Linked DNA regions of Homo sapiens: region 1 is linked to region 2. Evidence: promoter capture Hi-C in human tissues and cell types (Jung and others, 2019). All regions are on one chromosome and are shown on one strand. Each heading gives the region's core, a stretch centred on a gene start or on the middle of the fragment in contact. The rest is flanking DNA. Distances are from core to core; before and after follow the strand shown. Region 1 overlaps USP36 (ubiquitin specific peptidase 36). Region 2 holds the start of C1QTNF1-AS1 (C1QTNF1 antisense RNA 1).

Region 1 (2,700 bases), core at 64-2,563, 190 kb before region 2:
GGAAGAGCCCTGACAGGCCTGGGATAGCAGAGTCTTACTGCCAAAACCATGAGACGAAAACAACAGCCATCTAGTCAAATCTTACTGAAAGTCCACCCAGAACCACCTCAAAATTACCAAGGTCACCACTGGAAATAGGGGCTACAATTAGCCATCTCAACAATGTGCTTCTGCAGGGCACGGTGGCTCATGCCTGTAATCTCAGCACTTTCGGAGGCAGAGGCAGGCAGATCACCTGAGGTCGAGAGTTCAAGACCAGCCTGGTCAACATGGTGAAACTTCGTCTCTACTAAAAATACAAAATTAGCCAGGCGTGGTGGCGGGCACCTGCAGTCCCAGCTACTTGGGAGGCTGAGGCAGGAGACTCTCTTGAACACAGGAGGCGGGGGTTGCAGTGAGCCGAGATTGCACCACTGCACTCCAGCCTGGGCGACAGAACGAGACTCCATCTCCAAAAAACGCCCCCAAACAATGTGCTGCTTCATCTCAACAACTATGCCTTGATAATTAACCTTTGCTGCTATGAAGCCATCGCAATTAGCAAGATGTTTACAAACACTTCCCACTGCATGGCCATCTTGTGTTCTTTTTTTTATGTTTTTTTGAGACGGAATCTTGTTCTGTTGCCCAGGCTAAAGTGCAGTGGTGTGATCTCAGCTCAATGCAACCTCTGCCTCCCAGGTTCAAGTGATTCTCCTGCCTCAGCCTCCCAAGTAGCTGGGATTACAGGTGTGAGCCACCGTGCCCAGCCAGTAGCAGTCACTTCTATAGCACTCCCTCTTTGCGGGCTGCTACTCCAGGCACTTGACTCACTCAGAATTTATCGGAGCCTCACGCAACTCTGTAAGGAAGACAGTCTCATTCTTCCATAGACCAGGGACATTCTCAAAAACTCACAGTTACTAAGGGGCAAACTGGGAAGCAAACCCTACAGGCCAGGCTCCTGAGCTGTGTTTTCAACTGCTCTGCTCCCTCCAGAATTCTACTTAGAGATTTTCTGCGATGAAAACATCCTGCATTCCTAGGATAAACATAAGTTGCTTACAGTTTTTTAGAAACTGTGTCATTTGGTAGTATTTTCCTACAATTTTTATATCTATGTTCGTGAAGAAGTTGTGGTTATCCATTTTCTTTCTCGCATTTTCCTTATTATTGTTATCCGAGTTATAGGAACTTTATAGAATGAGCTGGGAAAGATTCTCTCCTCCTCTATTCTTTGGAAGAACGTGTAAAGGATTGGAATTGTTTCTTAAAAGTTACATAGAAATTGGCTGGGCACAGTGGTTCACACCTGTAATCCCAGCACTTTAGGAGGCCAAGGCGGTTGGATCACCTGAGGTCACGAGTTCAAGACCAGCCTGACCAACATGGTAAAACCCCATCTCTACTAAAAATACAAAAATTAGCCAGGCGTGGTGGCGTGCGTCTATAGTCCCAGCTATTTGGGAGGCTGAGACAGGAGAATTGCTTGCACCCAGGAGGCGGAGGTTGCAGTGAACTGAGATCACACCACCGTACTCCAGCCTAGGCAACAGAGTCCGTCTCAAAAAAAAAAAAAAGTTACACAGAAATAACATTGTCTCTGCTTGGGGTTTTTTATGGGAAGATTTTTAACCAATGCTTTAATTTCTTTAATAGTTAAAAGACTCTTCACTTTCTATTTCTTTCAGTTTTGGTAAGTTATATCTTATTTCACCTCTATTTTAATCAAATAGAGCACACCACCACATCCAGCTAATTGTTTCGATTTGTTTTTTGTGTGTGTGAGATGGAGTCTTGCTCTGTCACCCAGGCTGGAGTGCAGCGGCATGATCTTGGTCAGCTCACTGCAACCTCCACCTTCTGGGTTCAAGCAATTCTCCTGCTTCAGCCTCCCGAGCAGCTGGGATTACAGGTGCACCCCATCACGCCTAATTTTTATATTTTTAGTAGAAACCGGGTTTCGCCATGTTGGCCAGGCTGGTCTCCAACTCCTGACCTCAAGTGATCTGCCCACCTCTGCCTCCCACAGGTGTGAGCCACCGTGCCCGGCCTTGATTTGTTTTTGTAGAGATGGGATCTTGCTGTGTTGTCCAGGCTGCACGTTTTATAATACACATAAGATATGCTGATACAACAACAGATGCATAAAACAATTGGGCTAGGCATGGTGGCTCACACTTATAATCCCAGCACTTTGGGAGGCTGAGATGGGAGGATCATGTGAGCCCAGGAGTTCAAGACTACAACGAGTTGTGATGGAGCCACTGCATTCCAGCCTGGGTGTCAGAGCAAGATACTGTCTCTAAAAAAATAATATTTGTATATATATATATATATATATTTTGGAAGTATCTTTTGAAAACGTTTCTGTCTGGGTAATTATTTACAGAAAAGCTTGGCGAACACAGCCCCACCTGACCGATTCACCTTCATGGCCCATTCTGCAGCAGGCATGATTCAAATTTAGGTTTCATCAGTTACTATACATTATGAACTACCCTCCTAAATTTGACCCAGACTGAGAGCAGCAGTGCCACAAGTGCATGGGCTTATCTAATCCAGAGGACCCACAGCCACCCCACTGCTGCAAACCCACACTCACAGCTGCGAGCATGCTCCTTGGAGAGCAGGTAGTTGGCTAGAGGTGGTGTGTAGGTCAAGCACTGGATGGTGGCATTGAGAAAGCAGGTGTTGCCAAGGTTGTGGAGTCCTGCGCCC
Region 2 (2,700 bases), core at 75-2,574:
TTTAGTAGAGACTGGGTTTCACCCTGTTGGTCAGGCTGGTCTCAAACTCTTGACCTCAAGTGATCCACCCGCTTCAACCTTCCAAAGTGCTGGGATTACAGGGGTGAGCCACCGCGCCTGGCCTCCGGGGCGTATACTTTTAACCTTCCTATCTGGTGTTGGGAACATGGCACTCAGCTCGCCAAGCTGATGCTGGGAACTTCTCTCTCCCAGCTGCTAACAGAGAATGCCCAGGGGCAGGAAGGACACAGGTCCGCTACCCAGGGACTCTCTACTTCTCCTCCCGCCTCCCTCTCCTCCTCTTGTGTTGCCAAGGGTGGTGTCCCCAGTGAGCTCATTCAGGGAGGCAGGAAGCATGGTGCAGGAAGCCCTAGGTGGGCGCTGTGCGGCTACAGGACACCACTGCCCCTCCCAGGCAGGTGCAGCCAGCTGGCGAGGGACGTCCTCCCAAGTAGGAGCAGAGAAAGCCCAAGCTGTCCCAGGAAGGCCATGGGTTCCCTCCTTGTTCCTAGGAAGTGACCCCCCTTTTCAGGGCAACCAGGACAACAGAGTGTTTTTGGAACATGCTCCTTTCTGTTCTTCTTCCTGGTGCCTCCCCCCAGCTGTAATTAGCATGACTCATAAACCAAATATTCTGGCATTGAACTTTGCTCATCAAAACAAAGATGAAAAGAATTTCATAGATACAGTTGTGCGCAGGGACTGGAGCTTCCCATTTGTGTCTTGTCCTCAGGGGTCCCTGTTCCTGGGCGGGGGGGGGCTGTGGCTGAGGCTCCAGAACCTTAGGGAAGGGGTGGGGGTGACGGACACCAGGAAGGGCAGGAAGAAGTAGCAGGTTACACCATCCCCTGGACGATCCCACCTCTGCCTGACAATCAGTAGCCTCTAGAGATGTTCAAGTGGGGGCACTCCCTCATGGGCCACAGGTTGCCATTTCCCCTGTTAACCTGCTGAAATTGGCCTGCTGGTGTCAAATGGCACAAGGCAGCTCTCTGGACAGGACCCTGCCATCTCCCTGACCCCTTCATACAGGGCAAGAACTCACCTGCCCACTTTAGAGAGCAGTCTGGAAGAAACAGCGACGTCAGCTCAGCTCAACAATGTGTTTCCTTCAGGCTCTCTTGGGGCAGCCCAGCAAGCCGCTCTCATGAGCCAGGGATCCTTGGGGCCCTGTCCTGGGGTCTATGCTGGGGTCCTTGGCCTGGAAGGGCCAGTCCTGAGCTTAAGCAGGGACATGCAGGAGCAGGACATGCTCACTCCTTTCCTCCTTCCCGAGCCCCGCAGTGAGATGCTCCAACTGCTGCCGCTGCAGCCTCTAGTTCTCTGGGAGAGGCATGCGGTGTGAGCAGGAAGGGAGGGGCTTCGGAGCCATGTGGGAAGGATCTTTATCTCTGGGTCCTTGTCAAGGTCACGGCTGTGTGACACTTGTGCTGGGGTGATATGAGTGGCTCTTGGCAAATCAGCACCCCTCCAGCTGCCTGTTCTTGCCTACATTTGATTTCCAGAGCTGGGCTTGGCATCTGAATGTGGTTCAAAGGGGGATGGTCTCCAGCAGGGGCACGGGGACCCCCACAGTCCCCACTGTACACCAGGGCACTGCTATCTTGCCTCTGAGGCCCCCTGGATCTAAGCCGTTCTCCAGCTTCAGATGGGGCTGGCACAGACTGCAGGCCCCTCCCCGGGCCCCCATCCTGTCCAGGACGGCCGTCGGGACGGCTGTGGCCGGGCCGGTGTCTGCCCATCTCCCTGGCTCCTGTAGGAATTTTCCTTGACACGAGACAGAGTAGAGCAGGAGACGGCAGGCAGGGAGGCAGGAGTCGAGGGGAGGAGGAGAAGAGGCAGACAGGCAGGCGGGGCATGGGGAAGTCAAGTTCTTGGTGCCCTGTGCTGGGTCAAATGTTGTTCTTGGCCACGGCTAAAGCCACACTTGGTGGAATGCCCCAAACCCTATGCTTTGGGTTGTACCCATCCCCCTCAGCAAGACATCTGGATAACAGCCACCCTCTGCCCTGGGGAGCAGGGAAGCTGCTGGGAAAGCTGCCAGCCCTGGGTGGGTTCGAGGCAGATGTAGGTCAGAAGGCGGGCAGGGCCCCCTGACTCTGCCCACAGGTTCCTGGGGCCAGTCTTCAGAGCTGGGGACAGAGGTGTGTTCAGAAAACGCTTAGACCCATTCTCCTTGTAAAGAATCTAAAGTGAGAGATGGAAGGATCTGGGTGGGTTAGGGGGTGACCACAGGTCTCTTGCGTCCTCTGGCATTCAGGGGAGCCCCCTCCTCCATGAAAGGATATCAATGAGGGCAAGGCCCATGGTCCTGAGGGTCCTCCCCGTGTGGTGCGTGAACTTAGATTCCTTTGCAACTCAGAGCTCAGGTCTGCTTGTGCCCATTAGAGGGCACTGGTCGGGAGAGAAAAATCATCTGTACCCCAGCACATGGGTCTTTTCCTCCCTTCTTCAGAGCTTGCCAGCATGCTGGTGTCTCTTCACCCTACAAAAGCAGTGCCCTAAAAATGCACATCCGATGGGCCACACTGCCCAAGCCCCTCACATTTTAAGGTGTGTGTGTGTGTGTGTGTGTGTGTGTGCATGCACGCGCGGGTGTTCCTGGTGATCCTGTGCCTAAATCCAAAGGAATTAAACTCCGGTGGTGTATTTTAAGATGCTAGCAGGCTGGCACCAGGGATATCTTAGCACATTGCATCA

Evidence for each region. The method cuts DNA at HindIII sites, captures the fragments that hold promoters and counts their contacts. A contact is called where the count stands out against the background at its distance.
Region 1: a fragment that was not itself captured here is called in contact with the fragment with the promoter of C1QTNF1-AS1 in region 2 in 2 of the 25 tissues and cell types used here (mesendoderm cells and spleen).

Annotation. Positions count from the first base shown.
Region 1 is chr17:78,832,696-78,835,395 of GRCh38, forward strand. USP36 (ubiquitin specific peptidase 36) reads right to left here. Exons shown (of 21, transcript NM_001385174.1): 4 at 2,585-2,700. Among named protein-coding and RNA genes, the nearest start is that of USP36, 6.8 kb to the right of the region's middle. The HindIII fragment of the contact is 6,692 bases long and covers 1-2,700 here.
Region 2 is chr17:79,026,331-79,029,030 of GRCh38, forward strand. C1QTNF1-AS1 (C1QTNF1 antisense RNA 1) reads right to left here and starts at 1,325. Exons shown (of 3, transcript NR_040019.1): 1 at 1,046-1,325. All of the region lies in intron 1 of C1QTNF1 (C1q and TNF related 1), which reads left to right. The HindIII fragment of the contact is 4,721 bases long and covers 1,303-2,700 here.